2 separate regions of the Homo sapiens genome follow, and region 2 is linked to region 1. The links are contacts of gene promoters, found by promoter capture Hi-C in blood cells and fetal thymus (Javierre and others, 2016). All regions are on one chromosome and are shown on one strand. The core of a region is centred on a gene start or on the middle of the fragment in contact, and the rest is flanking DNA. Distances in the headings are between cores, read along the strand shown. Region 1 holds the start of MAGOHB (mago homolog B, exon junction complex subunit). Region 2 holds the start of DDX47 (DEAD-box helicase 47).

The links. The method cuts DNA at HindIII sites, captures the fragments that hold promoters and counts their contacts. A CHiCAGO score of 5 or more calls a contact.
Region 2: the fragment with the promoter of DDX47 here is called in contact with a fragment that was not itself captured in region 1 in 1 of 17 cell types (fetal thymus); the score reaches 5.6 in fetal thymus.

Annotation. Positions count from the first base shown.
Region 1 is chr12:10,613,029-10,618,620 of GRCh38, forward strand. It overlaps MAGOHB (mago homolog B, exon junction complex subunit), which reads right to left and starts at 581. Exons shown (of 5, transcript NM_018048.5): 1 at 411-581. The coding sequence starts at 504. RefSeq lists enhancers at 1-517, 302-701, 518-1,395. The HindIII fragment of the contact is 670 bases long and covers 916-1,585 here.
Region 2 is chr12:12,810,395-12,816,569 of GRCh38, forward strand. It overlaps DDX47 (DEAD-box helicase 47), which reads left to right and starts at 2,952. Exons shown (of 12, transcript NM_016355.4): 1 at 2,952-3,060; 2 at 3,737-3,830. The coding sequence starts at 2,974. RefSeq lists an enhancer at 2,779-3,088. The HindIII fragment of the contact is 15,992 bases long and covers 1-3,759 here.

The DNA of each region.
Region 1 (5,592 bases), core at 1-2,500:
TTGTTAACACGTTGGGCTCCTCCCCTTCAAAGAAAACACACAGCCTAAATGAAAAAAAGGTACTGGTCACCACAAGATTTTATTCATCCACTGGACCACCCGCTGGTGGGGGTGTTTTCAAAAAAGTGCTAGCATTTTCAATCAGGGCGACGATCTAGAGTCCCTTCTGGTGCACTGTTACAGAATTCTGATTACTGTAGGTTCAACTTTTCAGTTTGTGACAGGATTAGCTTTAATTTATTGCAATTAATTCTCTTTCATTTATAAAACCAACTTATGCCTCCTCTATTCTTAAGCTCCTATTTCCTTCGAGGGAAGCAGTGGCCTCCGCCGCCTGTACCCTCCACACCACCCGGCCTCTCGGTCTCGCTCCCCTTTCCCAGCACCGCGTGCCGTGGGCCTCTTCTCACCGTCCGGCCGAAATTCGAACTCCAGAAACTCGTGCCCAAACTTGCCCTTGTGCCCTACGTAGTAGCGCAGGTAGAAATCGCTAGCCACAGCCATTTTTGTACCCGGGAAGCCCGCCGAAAACGCAGCCAACGTGTCCCCCGGCGCCTTGCAGTGACGTCATCGCGCGGAATAAGTGCGTCACCACAGGCGCTTCTCTTCCTCCTGCAGTGCAGCCCTAGACTAAAGCGTGAAAGCCGAGTATCGCGTGAGAGTCCGGAGGCGCTGAAGGGAGGGTCGCAGCGCCGTGACTTTCGCTTTACTAGGAATGGAGGCACATTGTTTTCAAAATAAAGATTACATTATACTAGCAAAGATTAGAAATGTGAGCATATGATAGTCTTTTTTATGGACTTAGAGCTAAAGGTTTGCAAGTCACTTTTACTTTTCTGGTCTCCCAATCCTTGCGGCGTTTGTGAGGTGGGTGTGGCTCTATGCCCCCTTTAACTGTGAGCTAAATAAAGATAAAGCTTAGAATCGAAATGGCAGACCGGGAATATAAACTATTTTTCTTACTTAATTTCTAACAGGGTGCTTTCCCTTTGGATAGCGATTGGTAGTTACCCGGGACCTCTAAGCCTATAATAATAGAGACAAAGTCAAAGGAATCCAACTCTTAAAACCCTCACACCCCCCACACCTGAAAAACCCTGACAGTCACCGTGCTTTTTTTAACAGCAGAACTTCTAAGGTTCTTAATTCATTCAATAAGGGTTAACTTTTAGTAGCCTGTGAAGTTTTGGCAATTTGACTTACGATACAATAATGGTTTAGCCCATTATTGTTTCTCGCCAGATAGAATTAAATTGGGGGAATGAAAGAATGCTCCAGTGTGGCGTAGTTTTTAAGGTAAGGGAAAGACTTTTACACAAAGTTTCCTTTTCAGATATTATTGATCACCCTTTTGTTATCAACACACAGAGTAATCCTATCTGTCGGTTGACAACCTTCAGTGATTTTTAGTAGAAAGTGGTGGAGAGAAGACCTGGGATTCAATCCCAACACTTAACAGCTAACTAACCTCGGGCAAGTGACTATCTCTAAGCCTGTTTGTTCATCAGCCTAATGCATATACAGCAATCTACATTGCCAAGCTCACAGAATTCTTGAGAGATCTAATGAGATAATATGTAAAATAAGCTTTAAATTTTATAAAACATTAGTTTTAACAAACATTTCCTATGTGACAGTTTGAAACTAGAAATAAGCCATTTGATCTGGTAGTCTAGAAAAGAAAGCAAACACGTAAGGCGAATACCAGCACAAGGGAGCAATTGCTATAATTAAGAATATATGTGCCATCCTGGCCAGCATGGTGAAACCCCGTCTCTATTAAAAATACAAAAAAATTAGCTGGGCGTGGTGGCGCGTGCCTGTAATACCAGATACGCGGGAGGCTGAGGCAGGAGAATTGCTTGAACCCTGGAGGCAGAGGTTTCAGTGAGCTGAGATCGTGCCACTGCATTCCAGCCTGGGCAACAAGAGCGAAACTCTGTCTCAAAAAAAAAAAAAAAAAAAAAAGAAAAAGAAAAGAAAGCCTATATGTGGCCGGGCGCAGTGGCTCATGCCTGTAATCCCAGCACTTTGGGAGGCCAAAGGGGGCAAATCACCCGAGGTCAGGAGTTCAAGACCAGCCTGGCCAACATGGCAAAACCTTGTCTTTACTAAAAATACAAAAATTAGCCAGGTTTGGTGGCACGTGCCTGTAATCCTAGCTACTCAGGAGGCTGAGGCAGGAGAATCGCTTGAACCCGAGAGGCGGAGATCGCGCAGTTGCACTCCAGCCTGGGTGACAAGAGCGAAACTTCGTCTAAAAAAAAAAAAGTGTGTAAAACATGCCGGTAGTACAGCAGAGGAAGCAAGAGCATTCTATTGCAGAGTAGGGAAATTTGAAAAAAGAGTATTGGAAAAGGCTTGTCAACGGAAGTGTTTGAATTGGACCTTGAGAAGTAAGTTCTGTGTATGTTCAGTGGGATGAAAAAGCATTCCAGGCAGAAAATGACCCGAGCAAAGACAGTGGTGTGAAAATTCATGTTTGGGGAACACTAAGAAATTCGGTATAGCTAGAGCATAAGGTTCAAGTAGAATGACTAAAAAGGCAAATTGGGCCACGTTTCCTTGAGTCCATATTAGTAGTTATATAACTATTAATATAGAAAAATGAATCAGTCCCTACAATGGGCCACCATTTTGGAAAGTACGTAAGAAACAGGAAGCACCATGTTTTACCACTAGGGTGACTAGCCGTTCCAGTTTGACCAGGACTGTGGAGTTTCCTGGGAAATGGGACTTTCCATACCTGGAAACACCCAGGCAAACTGAGATGGGTTGGTCACCACACTTACCACAAGAATAATTCACAGAAATTTGAACACTCTATTCCGTAGTATCTCTGGAAATATCAGCTGTAATCCATTTTGTTGAATTATATGGAAAGCCTCATTCAATATCTTAGATTCCCTAATGTCTCTCCTTCAGGTTTTTGGCACATGTGCCAATGTTCATCTTCATGTTTACCTAAATAGAACTATGGATACCAGAATGTGTAACTATATAAATAGAGGTTACAGAATGCACAAAGTATTAACATCTTTGTTAAGTGGGCCAGTTACTGTCTTGATCTCCAAAAATGACATAGGGGTTCAAGACTATAATCCTACCTGTTTGTAAGATAAAATATGAAACTATATTTACTTAACTCTCTATATTTTAAGCCAAAATTTGAACCTTTTGTATTGAAGCAAGAATTACAAAGTGATAAAGCATTTGCGTTGTGTTGTATTCTTGGATGGTACACAACAGTGATGTGGAAATGTTCTTCTGTATGGCTGCTGAGCCCTTGAAATGTGACTACTGTGACTTCGAACTGAATTCTTAATTGTGATTAATTTAGATTAACATTTAAATAAACACATGTGGCTAGAAGCTACTGTGTTGGTCAGCACAGTTAGAATCTTTTCATACACTTTTAGTTGGGCTAGAAATAGCAAAAAAAAAATTGTGAACATTTTCAAATTGCTTGTTGTAGGCTCCAAATTAGGACGTACTTACTGATATCAACACAGTTTACTTATGAAAATAAATATTTGAGCTGCTTAAGTGAAGCCAAAATACTGTTTCCACCTTTGCTAACACAGCGGTAAATTTCAAAGCACAAAGTGAAGTAGGTAAGAAATAAACGTTTTATTTCCATCTGAAATTAGGGCTTAATGATCAAATCATTCTGACTTCCAATTTTCAGAAACATGTTCCATGTTTATTGTGATAAGCACTAGGTATTATAGTCTCATGTTTTTAATTTATGAATAACGTCTGATTCATTTGATTTTGTATTTACAGAAGAAAAGATGTCAGGGCTATCTCATTCAGTTATTAATAAATGGATCAGAGTAGTAAGTCAAGAATAAGTGCATAATGTGGTTTAAATTTTAAAAAATACTCAGAATGAGGTAGTATTTTAATTTTTAATTCATCCACCCACCTTGCTCTTCTCTTTTCCATAATAGACTTCCCTGTGGACGTTAGCCTTATCTGTCTTTTTACCACTTAGTGGTATTAACTTTTTAAGTAAGAGAATCATGATCATGCAGAAACACCAAACTTTCCACACCATTCGTTATCACATATGTTCATATATGGCGAGAACTTGGAGCTACTTCTAGATTACCATGACATGATATATTTAATTCGATTGTTCAATCTAAAATTTTTTTCCAGCAAATGACAATATTATATGCTTCAAACACATAGCATAATCTCTAACTCTTTTCCCCAAAACGGGTAAACACAGTATGCTAAATTAAGGGTAATAGGATATCTTCCAGTCTTCCACTGTATTTGCTACTTATTTATTTCAGTAAGAGTGTTAAAGCAAAATTTAAAAAAATTATTGCAACAGAGTTAAGATTAAGAAATCTTAATTAACTGACTTTTTTTGTTTTAAAATGCTAAAAAAAAACCCACTACTATTATTTGATTTTAATAACAGAATACCTAAATCTGGCATAAAAAAACATAGTGTGCTCCATAAGCATAATTTAAGAACTACTGGTTCAGACTATTCTATTTTAAACGACGTTACCAAGTTTCCCTTAGACACTGTATCTAGGTGGGTGTTTGCGTTGTTCCTAAGTGTTGGAATTTTTTTTTAACAATAAAGCATAGATTGGAAAAACAAGACTGGAAGAGAAGGCAATCAAAACAATACAACAAAATCTATCTAGAGTCAACCCGATTAAATGATAAATATTTTGATTCTTTTTTTCATTCATTAGCTTGGAAACACCTAGTTTGGCTGAAAGGTCAATGATGCCAGAAATATCATCCTCCTTCTGGAAGAAGCCTGGCCAAGTGAGAGAAAGACCCAGTTTTCTTAGAGTAAAAATTACTGTATCCAGTTTTCCGGGCCGGAAAAACAAATAAAATTGGGGGTAAAAAACTTAAATATCAATTGTCTGCTTCTTTCCCTCCTACTAAAAGAAATATGACAGTACAACAAAGCAACCTTCCATTTCACTGTGTTCCACTTTCCCTTAGCTCACCGTGCTGCAACCCATATGCTTTCTTGCAGTTCCTTGCCTCAGAATTTTCACGCACACATGTCCTCCTCCTGGGAGACTCTTCTTATTCGGCCTGGGTTACTTACCCATCCCTAAGGTCTCAGTTTATAGCCCATTTCTGTTCAGGGAAGTGTTCCTTTTAAACTCCCTTCTACTACCCTATGCTTTTTCTTTATAGCACTTAACACTTCGCACTTAACAGATACCCACACAAATAAATGTATAATGTGTCTCACCTTCTAGACTGTAATCAAAAGCTCCCTATTTCTTTTATCCTACACCTAGCCAAGTGTCTGGCACAGCAAGCCTTAACACTCAATATTTTTCAGTGATCAGATAAATAAGTAAATATTTGTAATTTTGACTTAACTGAACAGCTGAGAGGCAACAATGGGATTCCATAGGACTTTGTAATTTTGTGTGAAGCCACTCTTCTGCCCTTCTCCCTACTGCAACTTGCTACCCATTTAAATCCTGACTAGTCATTGTGGTATTCTTACAGCGGCAAGAATCATTATTCCTTTAGCTGACTCATTATGATTCCATCAGGATTCCAACTTCTACAACATTTTTAGCTGCCAGTCAT
Region 2 (6,175 bases), core at 1,702-4,201, 2.2 Mb after region 1:
GCCAATTGCAAAATGGAGGCTGCAAAAGGCCCAGAGTTCTGGTCTTCACTCTATTTATTGAGTACAATCCCTTAGATCTAAGAAGCAGATGTTTAGGGTGAAACAGTGAAAGGGAGGCAGTATGTCATAGGCGTAATCTATAGCAATGGCTGTTTAAATGAGTCTCCTTTGTTCTCAAACAGCATATCTTTAACTTATCGAAGAGTAGCTAGTGGGAGTGGGCTTAACTAGGAGCCTGAACGTCTGTCCACATTTCAATGCTTCAAAGGAGTGTCTTTCTCCTTGAACACAGTGTTTATAGATAAGAGAGCAGGTTGCGCTCAGAGCATGGGAACATAATGGCGATAAGAAGGCTTTCCTCCTCAGAGGCCTTTTGTGACTTGCCACAACTTATTGTCCCATATTTTTATGGCCCGTTTATGCAGGCACCCCACAAGCCCTTTTCCCAACATAGATCAGGGGTCCCCAGCCTCTGGGCCATGGACTGGTGCCAGTCCGTGGCCCGTTAGGAGCTGAGTTGCACAGCAGGAGGTGAGTAGCAGGTGAGCAAGCATTACTACCTGAGCTCCGCCTCCTGGTAAATCAGCTGCGGCATTAGATTCGCTTGGGAGCACAATCCCTATTGCAAGGGATCTAGGTTGCGTGGTTCTTATGAGAATCTAATGCCTGGTGATCTGTCACTGTCTCCCATTACCCCCACATGGAACCATCTAGTTGCAGGAGAACAAGCTCAGGGCTATCACTGATTCCACATTATGGCAAGTTGTACAATTATTTCATTATATATTACAATGTAATAATAATAGAAATAAACTGCACAATAAATGTAATGTGCTTGAATCATCCTGAAACCATCCCCGCCCCAATTCTGTGCAAAAAATGTCTTCCACGAAACCAGTCCTTAGTGCCAAAAAGGTTGGGGACCGCTGTCTTAGATGGTCTCCTTTTCTCACTCTTTCTACAGCCTATCTCCATATAGAGTTAGAGTAATATTTTAAATGTGTAGATCATGTCTCTTCCCTGCTCTAAACCCCCAGTGGCTTCCTTCTGCATTTAGGATAACATCCAAAACCCCAGACCTTTTACAACAGGGTCCTGCAGAGTCTGAGCTGAGCCCAATTCTCTGACCACATCCTACCCTTTTTGTTGTTGAGACACTGCTGTGATGCCTAAATCAGGGCCCTTTTTTAGTTGTGGTGGTGGGGAGGTCGGCAGGCACATTGAGTTGAGTTCCTCACAATTCTCAGGTCAAGCACACTGGCATCACAAGTCTCCTCTCTTGCTTTGTGTATTTATTATCCTTTTTTTTTTTTTTTTGAGACGGAGTCTTGCGCTGTCACTCAGGCTGGAGTGCAATGGCATGATCTCAGCTCACTGCAACCTCCGCCTCCGGGGTTCAAGCAATTCTCCTGCCCCAGCCCCCCGAGTAGCTGGGATTACAGGCACAGGCCACCATGCCTGGCTAATTTTTGTGTTTTTAGTAGAGACTGGATTTCACTATGTTGACCAGGCTGGTCTCGAACTCTTGACTTCAAGTGATCCATCTGCCTTGGCCTCCCAAAGTGCTAAGATACAGGTGTGAGCCACCGCGGCCGGCCTATTGTCTTATACACTTAATTCTTTTATTCCCAATTCCCAGTTTTATTCTAATTCTTCTCCCTCTGCAGGCAACCATTCTAAAATATTTCAAGTGTATCTTCTGTTGGATGTGTTTTAGCAGAATGTGATATCTGTGGGCCTATATTTTAATATACTTGATATATTTTATGCTTTTCTCACTAAGCACTAGGTTTTTCAGATCTAATCATATTGTTAAGGGCATGTTTGTAGACACCATGTTCACATTTTAACTATGCATTTTCCCAGTGACGGACACCAGATTGCCCCCAACTTCCCATCCTCAGGAATAAAACTGCAACGAGCACCCTGCGCAGTGTGAGACCCAAGTGACAGGCCACAGGAGGGCACTCGCTGGCCATGGGGCATGCAACATACAGCTCTGAATTTGCTGCTTTCCAGAATAGCCTTAGTAGCTTCACAGTCTTGGTACTTGGAATTCTCTCACTCTGGAATGATTATCTCCTGGGATCTTAAAGCGTTTTCTCCTGCTCAACAGTGAGGTCTTAACTCAAATATCACTGTCTCAGAGAGGCCTTCCCAATCTCACAGTTATCCCCACAACCCACCCTCCCCAGGTTACTCTGTAATTTTTATGTGAACAGGGTTTCACTCTGTTGCCCAGGCTGGAGTACAGTAGCACCATCTCCACTCACTGCAGCCTCAACTTCCGGGGTCAACTGATCCCTCAACCTCAGCCCCCTGAATAGCTGGGATTACAGGCGCATGCCACCATGCATGCCTGACTGATTTTTGCATTTTGCAGACACAGGGTTTCGCCACGTTGCCCAGGCTGGTCTCGAACTCCTGGGCTCAAGTGATCCGCCCGCCTCGTCCTCCCACAGTGCTGGGGTTACAGGCGTGAGCACACCCAGCTACTTTTCACAATTTGAAATGCTCTGTGATAGCTTATTTATGATCTGTCTTCTTTTTCTTCACGAGGGCAGGGGTCGCTGTCCTATTCACCAGCCATCTAGCATAGCCTTAGCAAATGGTAGGTTCTCAACATTATTGAATAAAGTAATGACATAATAAAAAAATAGTATTGTAATATCAATCCGTTCCAAACTCTATGGTTAGAAAAGCGGGGAACATAACTGGCGACACACGTAGGGAAGGCTCTTTAAAAGGGACCTAAAGGTCAACTGGAGTCCCTGGTGATCAGCCCCTTCTGCACTCGGATCTATTCCGCAAGCCTACGCGCCCATATTCACTGGGCCCCACCTGCCTAGCGGACGGGTGCAATCCCCGGCAAGCCCGCAGGGGGCGCGCAGAGCACGTCGTCCGGGGAGAACTAAAACTACATTTCCCAGCATCCCGCGCGCCGCAGACCCACTTCCGGAGACCTCACACAAGATGGCGGCACCCGAGGAACACGATTCTCCGACCGAAGCGTCCCAGCCGATTGTGGAAGAGGAGGAAACTAAAACATTTAAAGACCTGGTGAGAATGGATGACGCTGGCTTCTTTTATGTACTCTGGTGCTAGGCTCAGGGAGACCCCAGGTACCTTAGATCCCGCTCTGATAGTGTACAAAAGCATCTTGGGGCCTAGCTTGGGTTTTCCCCAGAATTTCAGAGGGCTGGGTTTCGGACGTGCTCTGAGTTTGGGTGGTGGGAGGGCTGCTGGGCCCTGAGACCCCCTATTTGCCCTATTCGCCACTTTAGTGTGGCAACGTTTGTATGTGCATCCAGGAGGTTGTACATATGGGGAATGGAATTGGTCTCTTTATAACTGGAGCTTTGGAGTCAGATGAACCAACCAGATTTGAATTTTGACACAGTCTCTTACTGAGGACAAGTTGTTACCTCTCTGTGTTTCTCTTTCCACATCTGTAAATTGGGGATAGTAATAAGTACTTACCTCGCAGAATTGTTGTGACGATTAAATGAGATGATACATGTAAAGCACCTGGCCTTGGCCTTGGTGAGCAGAAAGTGTTCGTTAAGTCTTGAGCTACTGTCTCATGGTATAGTTAAAGAGTAGGCTCTGAGATGCACAGTAAATACCTTTTAAATCAAATACAATGGTTGTACATGATGGGTCTGACAGTCAGTTAAGTAGGAGGGAGGTAGGGGTGTGCTGTTCTTGGCTAAGGTATATTTTTCTGAATTCCAAGGGTGTGACAGATGTGTTGTGTGAAGCTTGTGACCAGTTGGGATGGACAAAACCCACCAAGATCCAGATTGAAGCTATTCCTTTGGCCTTACAAGGTAGGTTGTATGACTTCGTACAGATTTAATATAAAGTTATCTCAATTAGATACCCCTTTTGAAAGCTGTTGCTTGCATACTTCAAGTGAAATAAGGATATGGTCACTAAAGGTACAAAGTTTGGGTAATGGTATTTGAAAATGTCATTCTCCAATTTTACTGAGCTTACTTTCTGTCTTAATAGCTGAAAGGGTTTGTTCTCTGCCACAGATGCTGACTTTAAGGAAGCCCTAGGTTAAAGTTAAAGTATATTAACGACAATCTTGGTAGACTTTATGCATCAGTGGGCGCACACTTAGGGAAGGATGCCTGGAACACATATGTGTGTCTTGAGGAGTTGAGAATTCTTGCTGTGAGCCATGTTTATCAGATTTGTAAAACAGTGGTTAAAGCAGATTGATGGCTACTGGAACTGAAACTAATGGGATGAACTTTTTTCTTTTTGAGATCTTTTTTTTAAGATGGAGTTTTTTTTGAGATAGAGTTTCGCTCTGTCGCCCAGGCTGGAGTGCAGTGGTGCGGTCTTGGCTCACTGCAACCTCTGCCTTCCAGGTTCAAGCAACTCTCCCGCCTCAGCCTCCCAAGTAATGGATTACAGGCGCATCACCATGTCCGGCTAATTTTGTATTTTTAGTAGAGATGGGGTTTCAGCATGTTGGCCAGGCTGGTCTCGAACTCCTGACCTCAAGTGATCTACCTGCCTTGGCCTCCCAAAGTGCTGGGATTACAGGTGTGAGCCACCACATCTGGCTGTAACAGGATGAACTTTAATAGGAGTAGAAGTAAAGTCCTGCTCTTAGATTCCTAAAGTACCAACTTTACAGGATTAGGGTGGGTGATAAAAGAGGCCCAGAGGTCTTAGTTAACTGAAATCTATTAAGATCCTCAGAGAGAGTGAATGTAATCATAGCAATTGTTATAAGAGGGGTAATGTGGCTAATTATTGTTAGTATTAATGTAGCTATTACTGTATTACTATATTATTAGTGATTAATGTAAGCTATAATTATTACTCATTAGTAATTAATGTAGTGATTATTATTGATAATAATTGAAAGATTTAATGATTTGAAGAGCTGTCATGTGGAAAAGGGGTTAGACTTACTCTACAAAATTCCATTTGCTCTTTCCATAAATAGTTACTATTTGTTGTAAATGTAAGGCACTGGAGGTTAACAGTCTGTCCTCTCCAAGAGTCTATAATCTATTAAAGAGATAATTATAAATTTATTACAAGTTGAACAGGGACCTAAGAAAGTTACATTCAGAGTGCACTGAGGGAGAAGAGATTACTTCTAATTAGGATGGATTAGAGAAGATTTATTTCATTTTATTTTTGGCTGGGGAGGTTGGGAAGACATGTGAGCTGAACCTTGAACACTGACTTTAGAAGGATTTAGACATTCAGATATGATGGGAGGGGAGGACTTTCTAGGCATAGGGAACAGCATGAAAAAAAGCCAACTGGAAAACATGGGCATGTATGGAGATTTGCAAGTACTTAGCAGAGTGGTGAAAAAGTTTAGTAAGGTGATTGGGGCCGGATTATGAAGGATTTGAGTGCTGGGTCAAGGAATTTGGTCTTCGTTTCATAGGCAGTGGGGCATTTTTGGAGATGAAGGATTTAGAGTTGTACTCTTGGAAGATTAATCTCATAGCTGTGAAAGATCATTAGAAACAAGAGACTGAGTCTGGGAAACCAATTAGTAGGTCTTTGTAATGATTTTTGCAATCAATAATGGGTAGGGTGGTGGTAGAATGAAAAAGAAAATGTTGGAAAAAGAATCATTATGATTTTACAACCAGTTAAGCAAGTGGAAGGCAAGGAAGGGGTGGGGAAAATCTAAGTTTCTAGGCTGTATGTTTAGGGCATATTATTGGTGTACCACTGATACAAAAAAGGAACGGGGGAAAAATGCAGGAAAGATGAGTTCAGTTGGAAGTAATTGATTTTGGATATCAATGAGATAGAGTTGACCTTGTGGGAGGGGAATGGGGAAATGTTGCTCAGGGTACGGTTTCAGTTAGCCAGGATGGATAAGTTCTGAAGATCTATTGAATAGCATGGTGACTACAGTGAATAATGTTTTGTGTATTTGAAAATTGCTAGGAGAGTGGATCTTAAATGGTCTCCCCACAAAAATGACAAGTATGTGAGGTGACAGATATGTTAATGAGCTTGATTTAATCACTTCACAAAGTATACATGTATCTAAACTTTGCATTGTATACCATAAGTATAATTTTTTGTCAATTAACAAAACTGGGGGACAATAAAAAAGGAAAAAAATACCCAGTTGGAATCCTGGGATTGGAACTTGATTGAGAGGCCAGAGCTGGATATA